Regions from separate parts of the Homo sapiens genome. Here regions 1, 2, 3 and 4 are each linked to region 5. Evidence: promoter capture Hi-C in 16 types of primary human blood cells and fetal thymus (Javierre and others, 2016). All regions are on one chromosome and are shown on one strand. The core of a region is centred on a gene start or on the middle of the fragment in contact, and the rest is flanking DNA. Distances in the headings are between cores, read along the strand shown. Region 1 overlaps NNMT (nicotinamide N-methyltransferase). Region 2 overlaps ZBTB16 (zinc finger and BTB domain containing 16). Region 3 has its middle 26 kb from the start of NNMT. Region 4 has its middle 7.4 kb from the start of NNMT. Region 5 holds the start of HTR3A (5-hydroxytryptamine receptor 3A).

Region 1 (4,659 bases), core at 922-3,421, 330 kb before region 5:
ACGGGAACATTGTGGAAATGTGTGTTTGATTCCAACAGAAGCAGAACGAACCTCCGTGCCCTATTGCGTATTAAGCTATTTGAAACACTTGAGTTACCACAGAACTAGAACTTACCAGTCAGATGATGATGCAAATTGTTCCCAAACTGTGAGCCACACTGTGAAGTCTCCAAAGCTCACAGAGAATGTGCCAATTTGAGAGGGAAATTTGCTAGAAACACCCAGTGTCATAGATCCCTGCTTGTCCTTGGACACACAGCAAACATTGGGGAAGTCAGTTGCCAAGGTAGCTGTGTAAAGCCTGCATACACCTCGGGGCAACGCAGGGAAATGGACTCACCAGAGACCCAGCCAATTACTACTTTGCCTCATGTTTAGCTCATGGGGTAGGTAATAAACACACACCGGGAAAGTGCTATGCTGTTTTGCAGAAAGCTAACAGCGGTGTGGTCATTTCTTTAGTTCTAAAGGTCTGCCCTTTCAAAAGAATCAATATGCAAAAAAAGGTAGCCCTGTCCTCTGTAAATATGCATCTATAAAAGCCTGAGGGGTATGGGGAGGAAGGGAGGGAGGCAAGAAAGGATGAAGAGGAGGGCCCCGGGAAGAACCCTTTCTGAGAATGTCTTCCCACATTCCAGGTGAACTATCCTGAGATTTAGAGGCGGTTCCTCCTGCCCTGTCTCAGCAAGGCTGGCAGTGCATCAGAATCTCCCTGACAAGCTGTTTTTCATTGTCCTCACATCCCCAAAGCCCCATCCTCAGAAGTTCCTGCAGGCTCTCCTGAGAAAGAACCATCAAAACAGGTCAAGGAAATCAAGGCTAAGTAAGCGTGGAGGTCACTGTGAGAATTGTACGGGCAAGGAACAATCATTAGTGCATCTTTGACAGAGACCACACCCCACACCCGAATCAGGTGAATGATATTCTAGGAGGAAAAGTCTGAAAAGCAAAATGTGAGTATTCATGTATTTTCCAAATATGTTTTGAACCTCTACTATGTTCAGGAAATAGGCTGGGCACTGGGGACACAAGGATGAACAAATGAGAAACAGATTCTAACCTCATGGAGATTGTAGACGGGTGGGTGGCGGGAGAAAGCATTAACCCAGTGATCACTCATAGGAGTGGAAATTAAAACTGACAAATGCAAGGAAGGAAAGGAGCATGGCACTAATGGGGAGATGTTGGGAGCTCCCCTTGACCTAGAGGATCAGGAAAAGCTCCTCCAAAAAGGAGTCGGGCAAGCAGAGATATAGAGGATAAATACGTAGGAGTTAACCAGACTGAAGCAAGCAGGGAGGGCGGGAGGAAATTCCAGTAAGAGGAAACCGCAAGTGCAAAGGCCACGTGGTGGCAGGAAACACAGGAGGAGAGAGCCAACGTGGCTGGATTGTGGGGAAATAGGTTGGCAGAGCCAGACTAGGCAGGGCTTTGTGGACCATGACAGGAATTTTGCTTTTCATTCCAAAAGCTCTGGAGAGTCACTAGGGAGCACTAAGGAGGAGAGTGACATGATCAGATTTACATTTTGAGAGGGTCACTTGGGCTGCAGAACAGAGAAGAATTGAGTGGAGGGGCAAGAGTGGAAGTGGGAGGCCAGTCAGGAGGGAGACAGGGGTAGCTGAGACCAGGTGATGGTAAACACGGGAAGAAATGGGTTACAGAGGAAGTCAGGAAGTAAAATGGACAGAGCTTGATGTTAAGTTAGATATGGAACATGACAGAGAGGGAAAGGACAAATTGACTTCCAGGTTCTGGCTTGTCCAATTTATTATATGATGGTGCCATTCAAGGAGCTAAGAATACCAGAAATAAAGCAGATCTGGAGCAGATGGTAGCTCTGTTTTGGACACACTGAGTTTGAAGTGCTCTGAGACCTGTGAGTAGAAATGTTTACAATTGAGGAAATAGCTAGTTGAAGGTTTCTTAACCTGCCCTGTGAATTTTCCTGGGGAGATAAGGTGGCAAGAGCACCTATTTAAGAGAGAGGCATCCTTGTAAAAGGCGGGAATGTTTCCTAGGTATCACTGAAACAATCATCATGATCATCAAGATCCTGGTTTTGAAAAAGCTTATCAATATCCTTTTGCAAGCTGTGAAAGTCCAGAGATGCTTTGGAATAGAAGTGGTTCACTAGTTTGTGGAACACATTTGGCACAACTGTGTCTATTTTTGGACAACATACAAACATCTTTTTAAATAGAAATGGAGGTCTTTGCACAGAGAGCATTTACCTCAGAGAACTGCCACCTCGACAGGGGCCTAAGCTTTCTTCTGTCAGGTATGCTGAGGTTAAGAGGAGCACACTACCTGACTTCAAACTGTACTACAAGGCTACAGTAACCAAAACAGCATGGTACTGGTACCAAAACAGAAATGTAGAACAATGGAACAGAACAGAGCCCTCAGAAATAATACCACACATCTACAACCATCTCATCTTTGACAAACCTGACAAAAACAAGAAATAGGGAAAGGATTCCCTATTTAATAAATGGTGCTGGGAAAACTGGCTAGCCATATGTAGAAAGTTGAAACTGGATCCCTTCCTTACACCTTATGCAAAAATTAATTCAAGATGGATTAAAGACTTAAATGTTAGATCTAAAACCATAAAAACCCTAGAAGAAAACCTAGGGAATACCATTCAGGCCATAGGCATGGGCAAGGACTTCATGTCTAAAACACCAAAAGCAATAGCAACAAAAGCCAAAATTAACAAATGAGATCTAATTAAATTAAAGAGCTTCTGCCAGCAAAAGAAACTAGCATCAGAGTGAACAGGCAACCTACAGAATGGGAGAGAAATTTTACAATCTACCCATCTGACAAAGGGCTAATATCCAGAATCTACAAAGAACTTAAACAAATTTACAAGAAAAAATCAAACAACCCCATCAAAAAGTGGGCAAAGGATATGAACAGACACTTCTCAAAAGAAGACATTTATGCAGCCAACAGACACATGAAAAAATGCTCATCATCACTGGTCATCAGAGAAATGCAAATCAAAACCACAATGAGACACCATCTCACACCACTTAGAATGGTGATCATTAAAAAGTCAGGAAACAACAGGTGCTGGAGAGGATGTGGAGAAATAGGAACACTTTTACATTGTTGGTGGGACTGTAAACTAGTTCAACCATTGTGGAAGTCAGTGTGGTGATTCCTCAGGGATCTAGAACTAGAAATACCATTTGACCCAGCCATCCCATTACTGGGTATATACCCAAAGGATTATAAATCATGCTGCTATAAAGACACATGCACACATATGTTTATTGTGGCACTATTCACAATAGCAAAGACTTGGAACCAACCCAAATGTCCAACAATGATAGACTGGATTAAGAAAATGTGGCACATATACACCATGGAATACTATGCAGCCATAAAAAATGATGAGTTCATGTCCTTTGTAGGGACATGGATGAAGCTGGAAACCATCATTCTGAGCAAACTATCTCAAGGACAGAAAACCAAACACCACACGTTCTCACTCATAGGTGGGAATTGAACAATGAGAACACTTGGATACAGGGTGGGGAACATCACACACCGGGGCCTGTCGTGGGGTGGGGGGAGGGGGCATGGATAGCATTAGGAGATATACCTAATGTAAATGACGAGTTAATGGGTGCAGCACACCAACATGGCACATGTATACATAAGTAACAAACCTGCACGTTGTGCACATGTACCCTAGAACTTAAAGTATAATAAAAAATTAAAAAAAAAAAAGGAGGAGCCACTCTCTACAGAGGCAACCAGGAGGTGGTCCATGCCCCACCTGCTGTCAAGAGGGCCAAGGAAAACAGCTTGGACAGCATGCCTGCAACTGATTCCCACCCACCTGTGTGTGTGCCCTGGCACACCTAGAGGGAAGCCCTGCTCCAGACACCAGTGCTTCTTCTACTGTAATGTGCATACCACCCTTAGCAGATCTTACAGTGAAGGTTCTGATTCTGTAGGTAGCTAGTGGGGCCTGACAGCCTGCATTTCTAAAAGCTCCCACGTGTTGTCAAACTACTAGTCCAGGGACCACAAGCCTAAGCTATGCATTCCAAGTTCCAGGAACCATAGGTTAAGTAATGCAGCTTCTACAATTTCTTAAGGAAAGAGCTCATTTTCCTCTGTTCATTGTATAAGCTTGAGTAATTGTATCTTAGTGTTTGACTTTCTTAAAACTTTTTTGGATAGTTGTAAAAATGAGGGTTATTTATTTTTATTATTATTTTTTATTATTTTTGAGACAGAGTGTCACTCTGCCAGCCAGTCTGGAATGTGACCACAGCTCACTGCAGCCTCGATCTCCCAAGCTCAAGTGATCCTCTCTCCTCAGCCTCCCCAGTAGCTGGGAATACGGGTGTGCACCACTATGGCCAGCTAATTTAAAATGAGTGGTATTTAAATGCAGAGGTAGAAGAACAGGAGACAGTACATACGTCTTTGGCAGCCTTTAGCACAAGAAAAAACTTCAGATAAAGAAGAAATCATCTTGAAGGAAATAGGTTGTAGGTTGATAAAGCTACTTGAAGATGCAGGAAAGACATGAGTTGCATAGGATCATTATCATTCTTAAAATAATTAAAGCCACAGGATCTAGCACAAGGATAAGGATAAGAATGCAGAAATTTACTGCCAAAAATGCAATGT
Region 2 (4,600 bases), core at 1,245-3,744, 260 kb before region 5:
CCTGAGCACAGGAGCTCCCCGGCAGGCCCATCTGTGTGTCTCTGTGCTGGTGCCTGGGCAATATCACCTGCACTTGGCCCCACACCGCTGTCCCCTGTGTGGGAAGGCACAAGCAGGAAACGTAAGTAGGCCTAGCATCTGTCAGTCCAGTCCAGAGTGGGTGGGGGGAGGGGGTAAAGCTTTGGCTGCTGGAAGCCATGGGCTGCTCAGCATGGAATCGGGAAGTGTCTGGTGGAAGGTAGGGGGAAGAGAAGGGATGGCACGAAGAACCTCCCTGCCTTCCTGGCCATCAATGGAGATAGCAAGTGAGAGGTCTGGTCCTCACCACCTCCGTCCCACTCATGGCTGGGTTAGGATGGACTAGTAGGCAGGCAAGGCCCACCTCTCACTGTCCCCCACACTTCTGTGCCCCTCACACCCACCCTGATATCCCTTCCCTTTGCAGACACTGAAGTCTAAGCACCTGGAGCCACGCCCCATCTCACCAGCAGTCAGGAAGGCTGAGCAGGGAAGGAGAAAAACAGCCAGCACAGGATTTTGCTCCTGGCCAACAAAAAGCAGGAAGGAAGGGGAGCGAATCTAGGCGTTATGCTAGGTACCTTATCTATGTTGTCAGTTCATTTAAAACTTGCAATCCTACAAGGCAGGCATTCTTATCCCCCTTTTTACCAGTGTAAAAGAGAGATTAAATAACTTGCCTAAGATCACACAGAAAGAGGCAGAGTTGGGATCTGAAAATATCTCGGTTTGTCTTTCAGAAACCACGGGGCTGGACTCAATGCTACCTCTGGAGCTGACTGCCCGCCTGTCTGGGCTTACCCTGGAAGAGGCCCAGTAAGGATGGTACAGAGGACTCCTGCCTCTAGTACAGCTCCAGCAATGGCTAGAGAACCCCTGGCCAGGAGTGGGCAGTAGCTGGGGCTGGGTCACAAGGCATAGCTCTCTGAGGCCTTCCAATCCCACTGGGAGCCACCAAGGTCTCTCAGAAATGCTGAGTAGTCTACTCAGCTTCACTTGCTGGAGGGAGACATAATGAGAGATGTATCTTTCTGGACAGAAGCAATGCCAAGAGTTGACAGTGAGTCTTCAATGTCCCTCCCTGCTTGGCCGACGTACACAGGAGGACAGTGCATCTGCAATGCGTTCTGTGCCCGGTGGCCCCCACTCCTTCAACTTGAGAGCCCCCAGCATCTACTCCCTCTCTGCCCTTAACCCCCACCCCACAGAGAGCCCAAATTAAGCCAGGTGTTCAAACAGCTACCTTAAATCAGTAGGGTTGAGTAGGCTTTGGAGGCCAGCCATGCCCTTTAAGAGCCAAGGCTTCTCCTTATGCATCCTCTGAGATCCCCGGCATGGAAGGAACCTGGGCAGAGGGAACATGAATGGCATTCCCAATAGGACATCTCAGCCTATACAGCCAGACCCACAGGTGCTCTGAGTGTCAATACACCCAGCAAGGCAGACTGCAGCACTCTGCCCCCTTGGCCTTTCCAAGGCCCCTCGATACTGCCCCACTATGCTGTCCCTACTTCTCAGGGTGGCCTGAACCCACTTCATGTCCATTCAGCCAACTCACTGAGCCACTACCAAGTACAGGCACTGTGCTAGGTGACCAGGGGCAGGCTAAGGCTGAGCAGAGAAACTGGGTCCCAGACTAGTGGGAGATGCTGAGTTAACAACCACCCAGAGGGTAAGGCAGGGCGACTCCAAGAGCTCCTGAGATTTTGAGTTAGGCTTTTAAAAGTTGAGTATCTGAGAAGCAAAGGACAAGAAGTTGGGACACATGTGCCAGGCTAAGGAGAGAGACACCACTGGCAAATGTCAGAGCAGATGGGGCCAAGGTCAGGCCCTGGGGATGGAGACAAGCTGGGAGGGTGATGGGAGTCAGATCAGAGGGCTGCATATGCCAGGCAGGACAGGTTGGACTTTATTCTACAGGCAATGCAGTGCCATGAAAGGACCGAGGGTTGCTATGATCCTAATGTCTGGGTCCCCCTCTGATTCCTTTTTTGAAATCCTAACCCCTAAGGTGATGGTATTAGGAAGTGGGGCCTGGGAGAGATAATTAGGTAATTAAAATGGAATGAGTGTCCTTGTAAAAGAGGGCCCAGAGAGCTAGCTAGCCCCTTCCACCACGTGAGGACACCGAGAAATCAGCAGTCTGCAACCAGGAGGAGGACCCTCACCAGAACCTGAACATGCTGGCACCCCAATCACAGACTTCCCAGCCTCCAGAGCTGTGAGAAATGCATGTCTGCTGTGTATAAGCCACCCAGTCCGTGGCAGTTTGTTATAGCAGCCTGACTTGACTAAGACGAGTGGTGCTAGCACGATCTGACCTGTGTTTGAAGCCAGTGACTCTGGGCACACATGGGGACCAACAGCAGCAGCAAGCGGTTAGAAGCAGCGAGAGGGCTGATGGGCCACTGGAGGAGGGTAGGGACCAGACCAGGGCAGAGGCTGCCAGGGCAAAGGGAGAGAGAAAATCCTAGAAAGGTGGGACAGCAAGGGAGGAGTGGCACGCAAAAAATCCCAGATGGCCAGTTCCACAACTGGCCAACAGGCTGGAAGTCATATGGTCACCAGCTGGAAAGGAAACACTATGATGTCCCTACAGTGGTCTCTCTCCCCTTCCTGGGACATTCCACAAGGTGCAGGGGTGCTCCTTGGTCACGTATCCACCAACCAAGGCTCCCAGGGGAAGAAAGGGGAGCCTCTGAGACTCAGCATCCACTTTCCCCATTTTTCTGCTTAGAAACTAACAGCTATGATGATAGAAAAGTATTTTTAAAAAAATGGAAAAGTGGGGGAGATGTGGATGAGACACAAGAAAAGCTATTGGTGCATGCGAGTTAAAAATCTAGAGACTAGATGTGAGTTATTAAACAATTTGCTGGCGTTTCAGCCTAGCTGATTGTTCGCATGTATGATGAGTCAGGGCAGATTCTATTACACTGGGAGATTAAGCAAATAAATGCTAGCTTTTGGAAACACATTAAAATGTGGGACTATGGAAATAAAATTATCTAGAAAATTGTATTAGCAATTCATTAGCTGCAGTGAGATGTGCGGCGGGGCAGGGGGGCCCGGCAGCACTGGAACGCTCTGCTCCCTTCAACGCCTGGGTTCCGTCCTCTGCTATGGAGAGACGTCAGGCCTGGTACCACTGGGGAGAGGGGAGGTGCTCTGACTGGATAAACGAGACCCTCAGAAGTCAGATGGTCCACATGACACAGGGGAAGGAAAAGCAGCACAGGGGTCCCAGCTCTCCCACATACTTGCCTTGTGGCCCCGAGCAAGTCATTCTTTTCACCAGATCCATTTGCTCCTTATCTGCCACTGTGGTTATCAAGAACATCGAATGAGATATCCACACGAAAAAACTTTATAATGTGGTCACAGAGCCAATGATGGCCAAACAACACCTTCATCTGAATTAGAAAATCACGTCTCCTCCTCTGGCCAGCCCCACAGACCTGGCTGCATATTTATGGTGAGTACAGAGAGGGCAGGGTTTTGGGATCTTCCCTCCTCAGCTGGGCACCCTTGTGCAGTGAACGACCTGGATCATGAGTCATGGCAGCCCTGCACAATACACATGCCTAAGCTGTTTTGTTGTCTTTGGGCTGCTACTTTCTGGGAAGCTGACCCTAGAGAAGGCATCTTTGAGGAGTTACACCACTTAGGATTCAGTGCCAACAACACCATCTTCCTCTGAGCTCTGTTGTATCACGTAAAGCCCTGTATTGCATTTATTTTGGACTTTCAGCTCTGCCTAATAGATTATAAGCCTCCAAAGTAGGAACTATTGTATTCATCTTTATATTCCCCAACACACAGTACACAGCCTGATATGGAGTAGGCACTTAATAACTGCATGTTGAATTAGAAAATAAATAAGGGGTTGTAAGACAATCACAAAGGGTAGAGGAGGAGGTATGAGGAGAGTCATGGTACAGACAGAGGGCTAGGGATGAGGAAAGTTCAGACTACAGTCCACAAATGAAACCACTACTAAGAGCATCCAACAAGACTCTCCTTGGAAATCAGTAATGACAAGTGACCCACAGGCAGCGGATCTCACTGAGGCCCCCCGTGTCTGTCTGGTGGGCTGGACAGGACTCCTTCGTTGTCACTCCATGTCTGAGCTCTGTTGCTCGGAAGCAAAAACCCAGACCATAGAAGGATCAGTTTTGCCATATTATACAGTGAAACAGTCCAAAGATCCCAATTCTGGCCCAGAGGTACAGCCCTTCTTGGATTTGTGATCCTAGTCCAGGCAGTGGTTGTCCTTAACCTTGGTTTCTTCATCTAGGATAAGAGAATTCATAACTAACCTGCCCTTTCCAACCCTAACTTCATAGCCCTGTTATGATGCAACTGACAAATGTTTTTGATTATGTAAATCCTAAAAATGTATTGTTTTCTATCAATCTGTACATTTCAATGTAAATCAGATATATAAGTCAGCTTTGACCCAAGAAAATAATTTTTCAGGTCAAGGAATTAGCACCTCTGCTGTTCTGAAGAATGAATGGGACTCAGTCTTAGCCTGGACTCCCAGGGTATCTGCTCAAAGGGAATCTGAAGTAGGAAAAGG
Region 3 (4,396 bases), core at 1,800-4,299, 290 kb before region 5:
TGACAGAGTTCAGACTCAGTAACCATCCCCGCAAGCCCAGCTCCACCTCTAGACATTTAGGTGAAGAATTGAACAGCCAATGAAGGAAGTTTCCTGAACCTTCCTCTCCCAGGTATTCACCTCTGTCACAACCACCTCTCCCTCCTTCCAGTTCCTTCTCTGCACAGATGCCCCCCTCAACCAACCCCCAGGCTTTTTAGCAGCTTAGGGTTTCCCATCTCTTCTGCTCCACTGTACTGCACTCTCTTCTACGGTGGGTTTTTAAGTAGCATACCTAATTAATTTTTAAACAAAATCTCCTGTGAACCCCCAGGAGCTGTGAGATACTAGGATGAAGATGTCTTCATTGGGTTTTAGTCTTTAGTGTTTTCAGCTCCCGAACACAACACCCTGGTTTCTGTCCCAGACCACTGAGTGGATGCTGGTAATTCATAAAGTAGGGAACACAGGAAGAAGAACAGGTTTAGAGGAGGGTGAAGAGGATGACATGATGAGAAACGAGGAGTTGCATTTGGAGCATGCTTGGCTTGAGGCTAAAAAATTGAATCTAACCCAGATGCAGGTCAAAAACTCACAGAGAGACCTGAGCTGGAGCCACACATGTAGTGGGGATAAGTGTGCAAAAAGCACCTGCTCTATAACTGCACTGAATTTCTTCTTCAAGTCCTCATTCAAATAGGTAGTAGACATTAAATCTCAGTCATTTAGAGGCTCCCATCACTGGGGTTGGGGTGGGTGGTACTTAGTGCCAGACACGAGGGCTGACACTTTTCCCTACTACTGGCACCTACTGAGATTATATTGTATAATTTGGTCTGAGATCACAGATTTTAAAAGGTTGCAACATCCCCTTTACACAGTCTCAATGTCTTTCTCTCTTTTAAAACAAATTTCCCTCTCCCTTCTATTCCCATTCTCTACTTTTATGGACTGAATTGTGCCTGCCTCCCTGCCCACTCCCAAAATTCATATGTTGAACCCCTTGGCCCCAATATGACTACTGCATTTGGAGACAGAGCCTTTACAAAGGTCATTCGGAGCCGAGCATGGTGGTTCATGCCTGTAATCCCAGAACTTTGGAAGGCTGAGGCAGGTGGATCACTTGAGGTTAGGAGTTAAAGACCAGCCTGGCCAACATGGTGAAACCCTGTCTCTGCTAAAAAAATACAAAAATCAGCAGGGTGTGGTGGTGCATGCTTTTGATCCCAGCTACTCGGGAGGCTGAGACAGGAGAATTGCTTGAACCTGAGAGGCAAAGGTTGCAGTGAGCTGAGATCCTGCCACTGCACTCCAGCCTGGGCAACAAAGCGAGAAAAAAAAAAAAGAACTAAACAAAAAGGTAACTAGGGTTATATGAAGTCATAGAATAGGGCCCTAATCCAGTAGGATTGCTATCCTTATCAGAAGAGGGAAACACACACAGAGAAAAGGCCATAGGAGGACACAGTGAGAAGGTGGCCATCTGCAAGCCAAGGAGAGAGACCTCACTAGAAACTAACCCTACTGGCACCTTGGTCTTGGACTTCCAGCCTCCAGAACAGTGAGAAAATAAATTTCTGCTGTTGAAGCCGCCCAGTCTGTGGTCTTTTTTTATGGCAACACTACCAAACTCATACACTCAGACGGGAGTAAGGGAAATCACTCTCCCTCTGCTTACGATACTCTGGGCTGTGAAACAACCATCAAAGCATTGCTTCTGCTCCAGCACCACATTGAGAATAGAGATGAGTCTGGAGTCTTGACACTTTCTAGGCTATGCCCAGGGAAAGGGCACAGGTTTCCTCTGTTCACACGTTCCTAAGTAAATGAGAATATAGAAGATATTAAAATGTAATTAATAATTCAAATCTAGTTAATTCACGTATTGAATGCTCTAATCTAAAAATAGAAAATATACCTTCTTTTCAAGGTACCCATGGAATATTCACAAAAACTGATTATATAAAAAGCCTCAAAGAAATTGTTTAAATTCTCAAAAGGTAGAAATAATACAAAATATTCTCTGATCAAATTGCAACAAAATAAATATTCATTACAAAAACAAAAGACTCTACCACCCGGAAATTTTAAATTTTTTTCTTAAACATTTTTGGACCAAAGAAGAAACCAAAAAAATTGAAAATTCTCTAGAATTTTTTAAACTCTACACATAAGAATCTATAGGACACTAAGGAGAGGAAAATCTATGACCTTAATTAATTATATTAATAACAGAAGATAATTAATACATGAATTAAGCATCTAAACCAAGAAGTTAAAAAAAGAATAACAAGTACATTTAAATAACATGCAATGACAAAATTAATAAAGATAAAAGTCGACACTAGTAAACGAATAAAGTAATGAGTACAGAAGCCAGAATGCAGTGATGGAGTGAGCTGGAGGTGAGAGGGTGGTGAGGAAGTGCAGACAGAAAATGCAAACAACACCTCTGAAAGCTTGGCTGTGAAAGGGAAGAAAGACAGGGCAGTAGCTAAAAGTGGATGAGCCTCTGATAGAGAAACACTAAATATTTTGACAGTGGAGGAAAGGCAAGGACAGATGCCAAAACAAGTCAAATTTATAAGGGATGAGTAGAAAACTGAGCTGAAAATGATGTTTTTCCTGAAAATAATGAATAGGGAGGTGCAGGTGTTTGAGATTCGGACAAGAACTCTATGGAAAACAGAAGGCAAAAACTAGGGAAATACAGAATTATTAGGGATTGTTGAGAGCCCAGATAACTTGACAGGAACTCAGTCTGCCCAGAAGTTGGATTTTCTGCAGTGTGCTGAGACGTCTTGGTGCAGAAGAGAACACAATGGATTAAGGTAAGGTTGAGACTTTTCTGGCAAGGAGAACAGAAGTTAAATGGGTAAGAAAGATAGAAGAGAAAGCCTTCACTGCATTCATCCAAAATACATTAATTAAGCAGCTATTATGTAAGATAATAGGTTGATGTATAAGAGCACAGAGTCTGGAGCTAAACGGCCTAGATTCAAAATCTGGCTCTAGCACTTACACAATGTGTCCATGGACAAGTTATTTAGTCTCGTTTTGCCTCAGCTTTTTTTTTTAAAATGTGTGAAAACACAAGGATAATAATCTACCTCTTAGAATTTGTGAAAGGATTAAATGAACTAATTCAAATTTAAAAATCAGAACAGAAATTTTTCTTCTGGCCATGACAGAGTAACAATTACTGGAATTGCCTTTCACCATAAACAACTACGAAACTGGACAAAACCGGACAAAACCTATGACACAGCTGCTTTCAGATTCCCAGGTAGCATGCCCACAAATTCTGATTCAGGAGCTCTAAGGCAGGGAACCAGCTGTTTCAGTTTTTTTTTTTTTTTTTTTTTTTGAGACGGAGTCTCGCTCCATCGTCCAGGCTGGAGTGCAGTGGTGCGATCTCGGCTCACTGCAAGCTGCGCCTCCCAGGTTCACGCCATTCTCCTGCCTCAGCCTCCCGAGTAGCTGGGACTACAGGCGTGTGCCACCACGCCCAGCTAATTTTTTGTATTTTAGTAGAGGCAGGGTTTCACCTTGTTAGCCAGGATGGTCTTGATCTCCTGACCTCGTGATCCGCCCACCTCGGCTTCCCAAAGTGCTGGGATTACAGGCGTGAGCCACCGCGCCTGGTCTGTTGTAGTATATTTTTAAGCAATCATAAGCTTGGTTGCATGGCTGGTTTGGGAACCATGGTAAGTCCCATGTATGGAGGCTGACCCTCTCCTAACAAGCTCCAGAGGATGCAAGATAAAGAGGGAACTCTGTGAACAAGTGGGAGGACTGTACAGATGTTCTGCCTAGCTGGGAGAGGCTGGAAAAAGGACTAAAACAAAAGGTACAATTAGCTCATCTGTGAAGTTCCCTTCAGTTGTCACACTAGGGACCCTGTAAGAGGAAACAAGGTCACTGTTGATCTTGTAGCTCCCAGGTGTCTCAGAAAGGTCAGCGATGTCGCCACTCCACTGGCCTAAAGCTGGGTTAACCAGATGACTCTGCTCCATAAGGTCTCTTCAGATCGTTTCCTCCTTTTACTCCTACTACCCAGCCCCATTTCAGGCCCTCATCATCTCATAACTGAATAGATAATAATAATCACCGCTTTCTACAACAAGTTAACAGCATGGGGAAAATGAAACTTAAGAGAAATAACAAATCGATGCAGTATGTGGGTATGATTTGGCTCTTAATTCAAATAAATCAACTTTAAAAAGTTATTTTTGAAGCAATCAGGAAAATCTGAATACAGACTGAGTGAGGATACGGAGGAACCATTCCTAATTTTGGAAAGATATAAATGGCACTGAGGTTAAATGAGAAAAATTCATTTTGAAAAATGCATGAATTGGAGTATGTCGTGGTGAAACAACACGATGTCTGGGATTTTCTTTAAAATATTTCAGCA
Region 4 (4,359 bases), core at 310-2,809, 310 kb before region 5:
ATTGAGCACTTATTTGTGCAAGTACTGTTCTATATGTGCTTTACACATATTAACTCATTTAATCATTGTAACAGTCTAGGAAGGACTATGTTTAGAAGTCCAGTGAATCACAAGCAAAATATTTGAAAAGCAATTCCCTCCTAGACATTTTACTGATAAAAAACTGCAACACCAAAGACTACAAAAGATGTTAAAAACATCTAGAGAAAAAACACAAGTGATAGTTACACTAACAGCTGACTTTGCAGGACTAGGAAGCTTGCTAGAAGACAAGAGAATGATATTGTAAATGTGCTAAAACAAAGCAATTGTCAACTTAGAATTCTACAACCAGAAAAAGTCTTTGAAGAATTGGGACAAAATAGAGAAAGTAGCGGGCAAAACTAAAAGCTTGCCACTAGTACGTCCTCTCTAAAGGAAGTTCTAAATGATGAATTTCAGACAGAAGGAATGTGAACCCCAGTGGAAGGTCTGAAATGCAAGAAGGAATGAAGAATTAACTGAGAAGGCCAACATGTGGGTGATTCTAATAGACATAAAAAATAATGCCTTGTGTGGTTAAAAATAAGAAAGATGGAATTAAAGTGGCTGAGCCCTAGTTTTCCACATTAATCCCCCCTGCATCAGATTGCTTGCTTTCCCTGTCTCACTTCCCCATTCCCTCACTGGTGCTTAGTGGGATCCAAAATAAAATACTTACACTCCAATTTTAGACACCACAAAATAATATAATCAAAGTGTATTAACTTCCAAATTAGTAGAGCAGAAGAACTAGAATGACAAAATACTATCAATTCGAAAGAAGATAAGAATGGAGAGAAAAAGAAACAGCTCTTTAAGGACAAATACAAAGCGTAAAATAAGAAGATATTTGGTTGAGGATTAAAAACAGACAAAAGCATCAGTTAAAATATGTATTACATGAACAGCAGGATTAACCAACTTGATTTAATGGACATATACAACATAATGCACCCAAACACCCACTGCTATGATTTGAATGTTTGTTCCCCATCAAATTCATATGTTAAAATCCTAACGCTCAACATAGCAGTATTAGGAGGTGGGGTCTTTTGGGAGGTGGTAGGTCATGAAGGTAGAGGCCTCATGAATGGGATCAGTGCCCTTATGAAATAGGCCCGAGAGAGCTCATTCACCCTTTCACCACATGAGGACACGGTGAGAAAGTGCTATCTACGAAGAAGGAAACAGGCCCTCACCAGACACTGAATCTGCTGGTGCCTCAATCTTGTACTTCCCAGCCTCCAGAACTATGAGAATCAAATCTCTGTTGTTTACAAGCCACCTCGTTTATGGCATTTTGTTAGAGCATCCCAAATGGTCTAAGACACACATTTGTTTCAAGAATACATAGGCCCTTAATAAATTCTTACATACTAGCCCATTAAGCAAGCCTCAACATATTTCAAAGGGCTGAAATGATATAGGGCTTGCTATTTGACCAATGCATTTAAGCTAAAAGTAAAAAATAAAAGATAACTAAAACACCCTTATTTGTTTGGAAATAAAGAAACAAACAACCTATGGGTCAAAGAAGAAATCATAATGGAAATTATAAAATATTTCTAACTGAGTAGTAATAAAAATACTACATATAAAAACTCATGAGTTGCAGCTAAGGCAGGATTTAAAGGGAACTCTAGTCCTCAAATATGCATACTAGTAAAGAAGAAAAACTGAAAGTTAATGAGCTGAGGAAGTTAAGAAAGGAGCAGCAAAATAGACAAAAGTAGAAAGAAGAGAATCCTGCAGAGCACAAAAGCTAAGAATTAATGGGAGAATCAACAGGTCCAAAAGTTGGTTCTCTGAAAAGATAAATACAATTAACAAATTTCTAGCTAGAATGATCAAGGCAAAAAAGAGAGAAGGCTCATATGCCCAGTGTCAGGAATAAAAAGGGGAACCTCATGGCAGATGCTGCAGACATTTAAAAGATAATAACAAGATATTACAAATAACTTTATGCCTATACATTGAAACATTAAATTTAGAGGTTTCCAAATAAATATATAACACATATAAAATCTGAATTGCCTTATAACCATTAAAGAATTTAAATGGAAAATTAGTTTCATACAAAATCTTCAGAGCAGATGGCTTTACCAGTGAATTCTACCACATATTCAAGTAATCAATAATTCTAATCTTACACAAACTCAGAGAATACAAAAAGAGAAAATACCCCTCAACTAACTTTATAAGTCTAGCTAAAGCCTAATATCAAGGTTACTTATGAGAAGAAAAAAATTACAAGCTAAAAATCACCCATGAGCATGAGTATAAAAATCCTAAACAAGTTATTGTCTGGTCAATAAAGTAGCAAATATGTATATGGTGCTTACTATTTTTCAGGAACTGGTTTAAGCATTTTGGACATATTACTAAAATTTACAGAAGTTTTGTGAGTTAAGGGCTATTATTATCCCCATTTCAGCATATGAGAAAATCAAGGCACAAAAATGTAAAGTAAATTGCCCAGGTCACGCTGCTAGACAGTGGTATAGCCAAGTTTTAGACCCAGGCAATCTAACTCAAGAGCCTAATTTTCTAGCAGCTATACAATGGCCAAGGTGAGTGTTTCCCAGGAATACAAAGTGATTTAACATTCAAAATTCAATTAATACAAATCATCACATGTACATGTTAAAGGAAAAATATCTTCTGATCCATTCAACAGATGCAGAAAAAAAAAAAAGAAAAAGCTTAAATTCTATATCCATTCACAACAAAAACAATCCTTGCCAAACTGGAAATAGAATAAGACTTCCTTAATCAGATAAAGATTACCTACAAAAACCTCAACAAACATCACTCTTCCCGATGACCCATTTACAAGCTTTCCTTTCAAGTTGAACAGAGACAAAAATGTTAACAAATACCAATTTCATTCAACATCCTGGACAGTACGGCAGGTTAAAAAAAGGTTAAAAATGTAAGTATTGAGGAGGAAAAAGAAAAAACTGTTACTATTAGCAGATAACATGATGATATAGAGAGAGAATGAAAAATAATCTACAAGTAAATTATTACAATATAACAGTTTAGCAAAATATCTGGATATGAAATCAATATAAAAATTAAATTCATTTCTAATCAGCAACAGCTATACAATGAAATTTAAAACAGACATTGCCCACAATGGCACTGAAAAATATGAAGTACCTAAGAATAAATCCAGCAAACTATGTATAAGACATTAATGGAGAAAATAATAAAATTTTATTGAAAGACATTAAAGAAGACCTAAATAAATGGAGAAATACGCCACTTCATGGATGGGGGGACTCCACATGGTGAAGATGTCATTTGTCTCCAAATTGATTTATAGACTCAGTAAAATCCCAATTAAAATCCCAATAGTTTTTTGGTGAAACTTGACAAGCTGGCTCTAAAATTTATATGACAGTGCCAAGGGCCAAGAGTAGTTACTCTTAAAGAAGAAAAATAAGGTGGGAGGACTTGCTCTACCAGATATAAATACTTATTATAAAGCTGTAGTAATTAAGACAGAGTAGTATTGGTAGTAGGATTGACAAATAGACCAATAGAACAGAGTAGAGAGCCCATAAACAGACCTGTACTTTTATGAACAGTTGATATATGATTGAGGTGATAGCTTAGATCAGTGGGGAAAAAGATAGACCTTTCAATAAATAGTGCTAAGATAATTGGGTATCTGTAGGGAGGAATAAGGAATTAGAACCCCACCTCACATTATGCACAAAAAACAATTCAGGCAGATTAAAAAACTAAATATGAAGGGCAAAACTCTAAAGATTTAGAAGGTAATGTAGAAGAATATCTTTATGACCTTGGGTGCAGATAACGATTTCTTAAACCAGACACAAAAGCCATGAATCATGAATAAAAGATTTGTAAATGCTAGTATATTACAATTAAGAATGTCTGTTCGACCAAAGACACTTTAAGAGAGTGAAGAGACACTCTACAGAGAGGGAAAAGATACTACAACACATGAAACTGACAAGCAAGAATTTATGAATTCTGACAACAGAATTTACAAAGAACTTCTGTGAATCAATATGAAAATAAAGAAAACAAAAAACTTGAACAGACCCTTTCTGAGAAAGGAAATCCAAGTGACCAATAAACCTAGGAAAAGATCCTTAATCTCATCAGTGGAATGCAAATTAAACCACAATGAGATACAATTATGCAGCCATCAAACTGGCAAAAATCACATCTGACCAGCACCAAAGGCCTTGACCAATAGATGTCCTTGTGTATTTCTAGCAGGCATGTAACTTGGTGCAGCGTTATGGAAAACAGTCTGGCATTGACTGGTAGAGTTGAGTTGCTGCGTACCCTATGCCCAGT
Region 5 (4,133 bases), core at 1,537-4,036:
CAATGGATACGGTGGTTGGCTTCCTCCAGTCCCTCACGGGGCGCACACCCTTCCTGTAGTTGGTCAAAAGGTAATCCGACAGCCTCAGCAGAGCGGGCCTGGTGGTGTTTCGGCTCCTCCTGGCTGGGAAGGAGAACAGTTCAAAGTAGACACCAGCCCCCCAAGACTTCCCCCGGTTCTCTTGTCCTGGTTTGTAAGCTGTTAAAAGAGACGTATCCCCACCATCCCCACCTCACAAAATTCTAAACACAGACTGACATTCTCACCACTAGAGCATTTTGTCTGCAGAGATTTCTACCATAATTCAAATGTATTACCTTGTAGAAAGGACCTATGCATTCATTGACAGGAAAGCAGAGATCTGGCTTGGAAGAGCAAGTGGCACAAGACAGCTGAGATTCAAATCAGGTTGAGGGCTAAGAAGGTCGGAGCAGGTGGCCCACGGGGCCTAAGCGAGGGCCTCTGGGGAGCAACAAGGAAGCTGGCTCTCAGGGTATGATACTAAAAGCAAGAGGGTTGCAAGAAAGCATGACCCCAAGTGCACAATTTCTAAGCCCAAGGGTCTGCATCAGGGTTTTCCTCAGCCAAGGTCAAACCTCAGCATCTGCACACAACATCTCCTTTTTGAGTATGAAACAGGTAAAGAAAGAAGGAAGTGTGGGCATCTGGTGAAAACTGACATTTCCTCTACATCCTGCAAAAGCCACCCCAAGAGGATCCTCGCACCCTGCCCCAGGCACACACAAGCTATGGGTGGAGGGCTGGCCCAGTCCACCTCCTAGGGTTGCTGTATGGGCAAACATGATGGGCTTAGATAGGTGGTTGGGGCGAGGTGTGGAGGGAGTGAGAAGAAATCAAACGACTTCCGGGGTAGGTGGCCTATGGGGACAAACCAGTAATGAGACAGCCCAGCTCCTGGACCCTGGTGCTGTTCTATGAAGATTTCATGCACAGCTCAGTTTTCACACTGGAAGCAGCAGGAGCACTTCCAGAAGGGTGGCCTGACATGCAAAAGTGAAAATTCATGGGACGGTGAAGGGAGTACAACCTAGAGGGCCAGCATACGGGCAGCAAAGGGGAGATGGAGCTGGCAGGTAGCCAGGGTCTTTCACTAACCAGGTGCTGGCAAGGCCTGGCTTTTGCTAAACAAGACTGTGTCTTCTCTCATCTAGTGTGCAACCTGTACAACAAATCACTCCTGCAGATTCCCCCTCCTTTCACCCCCTTTTCCCTGATAAGCTACTGGCTTCCCTCAGAAGGACAGAGAAGAGCAGAGAGAACACACACACACACACACACACACACACACACACACACACACAAACTATTTTTTAAGTGTCTCCTTTGGAATAACATCAATAAACATATTCTTCATTTAACTTTAGAACAGTCCACCAGAGTGGCTATTTGCACACAAGGATCCCCAAGCACCAGAAAGGTGAGCACCTTGCTCTGCAAGTGGAGGAACTGAGATTCAAACGCAGACCCGTGTGCGTCTTTACTACACCAGCAAGAGCCTGGGTCCTATTGACTGGGATCCTGACCAGCTTGGAGAGCACTGAACTCATCCCAGCAGGCCCGGGGCAAAGGACCATTGCTAGGAGGGACAGAGTTTCTTCTCAGTCAAGGAAGCCCTCGACCACAGTCATCACTTACAGCTTGCGTTTGCTTAACCCACGGAGCACTCCCAAACGACCGCTCCCGGGAGGAAGGACATCTTACCCAGAGCTCTTCACGTCTGTCCAACCCCTGGATGGCTTCCTCTAATTGTGCCCCAGTATGCTCCACCCCAGCTCTGTAGGGAGAGAAACCTCCTAGAGGGGAATGAACATGGTCTGCAGCAAAAGGAAGCCGGTCCCTTTGTGGCTAAAACACCCTACATTCAAGGGAGTCAGGAGAAGATGGGTGTAGCGAATGTGGAGAGAAATTGGGCGTTACTGGAGTTTAGTCCTGGAAAGGAACTTGGGGAACCGCAGGCCCAGAGAACGAACTCATGCAACAAAACCAGTGAAGCTGAGGAAAGAGGACTAGACTAGTTCTGGTCCCCACTCTGCTGCTAACAAGCTGTGTGACCTTGAATGAATTATCCGCTCCCCACTCTCTGGGCCACAGCATTCCCATTTATAACAGGCAAGGGTGGACCCAATGAGTTCTAAGGTCCCTTGCAGCTTTCATTCAAATAGTTTAGGGAAAGGACAAAAAGGAGAGGAGCCCCCTCCTGGTGCCTGTCTTTTTATTTCTGATACGCCAGGCTACTTCTCTGCTCCCTTCTTTGCAAGCTCCGCTCTTGCCCCACCCCAGGACTCAACATTCCTAACTCTCTCTAGCTTAACCATGATGCCTCAAATGCTGTCATGCTCATAGGTGGTAAGATAGCTGACCTTCCTGCAGCTGCACTGTTCCCCACCCTCCTCTCCACAGCCCTCGGAGGACTGAAGCATCCCCTGCCCCACCTCAGCAGATGGTCAGCCAAGTCCTGCTGCTTCCCGAAGTCTGCTTACCTTCTCCCTGTGCCAGGAGTGTGGGGAGGAGCAAGGCGAGCAGCGCCTGCTGGACCCACAGCAGCATAGCGAGCTTTCCAAGCATAGGAGTGCCTCCGAGTGCTCAGGACGAGGCCCACCAAGGGCCAGCTTGCCTGCCCTCTGCCAACCTCATGTCCCAGCCAGCCTGCCTCTCGTGGCCACTGCTCACACCTTCTGAGGCTGCAGCCTCACACTCCCTGGGCCACCAAGGTTGGGGAGCTGCCAAGTTTTCCTGCAATCAGTCCTTCAGCTGGATCATGTTTCAGGCGGGAGGAAAGGGGAGGGGACAGCTGAGAGGGGAGCCCGCCCTAGCTGATGTCATGCTGTGGGAGCTCAGTCCACCCATTCAGCCAGGGGGCTTGGCCATGTTTCCCCAAGGAGTAACTTAGGTGGGGACAGGGGCTGCAGAAGCCCATGAGACAAGGGTGCAGCCTGACCCCTGGGAGGTGCACCACGCTGCTGCTTTCATTGATGTCCCTTGGCAAGTATGTTTCTGTGGCACTGGGCTGGGGCAGGATAGGGTGAGTCAGGCAGGAGCAGGAAGACCATTCTTTTACTCCCCAGGGTGACATAACCAAGCAGGTGACTGGGCACCTCTGTAGTTACGGGAAGGGTAACTGGAGTCACCACAGGTCTGCCCTTTTGTCCTCATCTAATTAGTTATACTTAAATAGTAAAATATATATTAAAAATAATAAAATATATAATAAAAATAAACTTTTACTATACATATTTATTTCATGCATTCTTGCCATACATAATAAATACATATAGTAAAAATAATAATAATACATGCACTTTGTAGAAAAATATGAAGAAAAATTAAAATCATCTGTAAACTTATGACTCAGAGACAGCCACTCTTAACGTTTTGGTATATATTCTTCCATAATTTTCTTCAGTAATGTGTATACAATGAAGTAAATATCACATACATATAATTTTGTGCCCTCTTTTTTTGCTTGATATCATTTCGTAAGCATTTCTTTTCTTTTCTTTCTTTCTTTTTTTTTTTTTTTTTGAGACAGAGTCTCGCTCTGTCACCCAGGCTAGAGTGCAGTGGCGCAATCACTGCTCACTGCAGCCCCAACCTCCCCCATCTCAGCTGATCCTCCCATCTCAGCCTCTTGAAGAGCTGGGACTACAAATGCGAGCCATGCCTGGCTAATTTTTGTATTTTTGGTAGTCCCCCAAAGGGACTAGAGGCATGAGCAATCACACCTGGCCTCGGAAGCATTTTCAATACCTTCCTCTTAAATGGAAGCGTCTTTCTTGAAAGAAGTGTTTCTTTCTTCATTGCAAGTTAAATAGACAAGTATCTATCCCTCAGGCCTCAGCTGTGTACCCCTAAAGTTGCCTGCAAGAAGAATTACTGTGCATTTTTATTTGAAGGAGTCCTACCCTAGCTCACCATTTGGGTAGATGTCCCCGTACCAATCAAGTTAAGTATCAACAACAAAACATTTTCTTCCTTTTTAATTTATTTTCCACTTGACTCTAAGTGTGGAATAGGCTAGGAACCCTGCAGTAAGGAGGAATTTTCTGAATTGTAGGTAAGTTAAAAAGAAAGAAAAAAAGAAAGAAACTACCTTGGTCAGGGCTGCATCCTTT

What was found. Contacts are between HindIII fragments. The CHiCAGO score rates a contact against its expected background, and 5 or more counts as called.
Region 1: a fragment that was not itself captured here is called in contact with the fragment with the promoter of HTR3A in region 5 in 7 of 17 cell types (fetal thymus, total CD8 T cells, monocytes and 4 more); the score reaches 8.3 in fetal thymus.
Region 2: a fragment that was not itself captured here is called in contact with the fragment with the promoter of HTR3A in region 5 in 12 of 17 cell types (naive CD4 T cells, naive CD8 T cells, M1 macrophages and 9 more); the score reaches 7.6 in naive CD4 T cells.
Region 3: a fragment that was not itself captured here is called in contact with the fragment with the promoter of HTR3A in region 5 in 12 of 17 cell types (total B cells, total CD8 T cells, naive B cells and 9 more); the score reaches 9.6 in total B cells.
Region 4: a fragment that was not itself captured here is called in contact with the fragment with the promoter of HTR3A in region 5 in 6 of 17 cell types (monocytes, total CD8 T cells, erythroblasts and 3 more); the score reaches 6.6 in monocytes.

What each region holds. Positions count from the first base shown.
Region 1 is chr11:114,304,427-114,309,085 of GRCh38, reverse strand. The region is part of intron 2 of NNMT (nicotinamide N-methyltransferase); the gene reads right to left. Among named protein-coding and RNA genes, the nearest start is that of NNMT, 10 kb to the right of the region's middle. The HindIII fragment of the contact is 196 bases long and covers 2,074-2,269 here.
Region 2 is chr11:114,236,023-114,240,622 of GRCh38, reverse strand. The region is part of intron 4 of ZBTB16 (zinc finger and BTB domain containing 16); the gene reads right to left. Among named protein-coding and RNA genes, the nearest start is that of NNMT, 58 kb to the left of the region's middle. RefSeq lists an enhancer at 1-168. The HindIII fragment of the contact is 4,626 bases long and covers 182-4,600 here.
Region 3 is chr11:114,267,719-114,272,114 of GRCh38, reverse strand. It overlaps a transcript of NNMT not described here. Among named protein-coding and RNA genes, the nearest start is that of NNMT, 26 kb to the left of the region's middle. The HindIII fragment of the contact is 1,218 bases long and covers 2,441-3,658 here.
Region 4 is chr11:114,286,799-114,291,157 of GRCh38, reverse strand. It overlaps a transcript of NNMT not described here. Among named protein-coding and RNA genes, the nearest start is that of NNMT, 7.4 kb to the left of the region's middle. The HindIII fragment of the contact is 2,333 bases long and covers 393-2,725 here.
Region 5 is chr11:113,973,761-113,977,893 of GRCh38, reverse strand. It overlaps HTR3A (5-hydroxytryptamine receptor 3A), which reads right to left and starts at 2,786. Exons shown (of 9, transcript NM_000869.6): 1 at 2,502-2,786; 2 at 1-123. The coding sequence starts at 2,568. RefSeq lists enhancers at 1,902-2,561, 2,562-3,223. The HindIII fragment of the contact is 9,568 bases long and covers 1-4,133 here.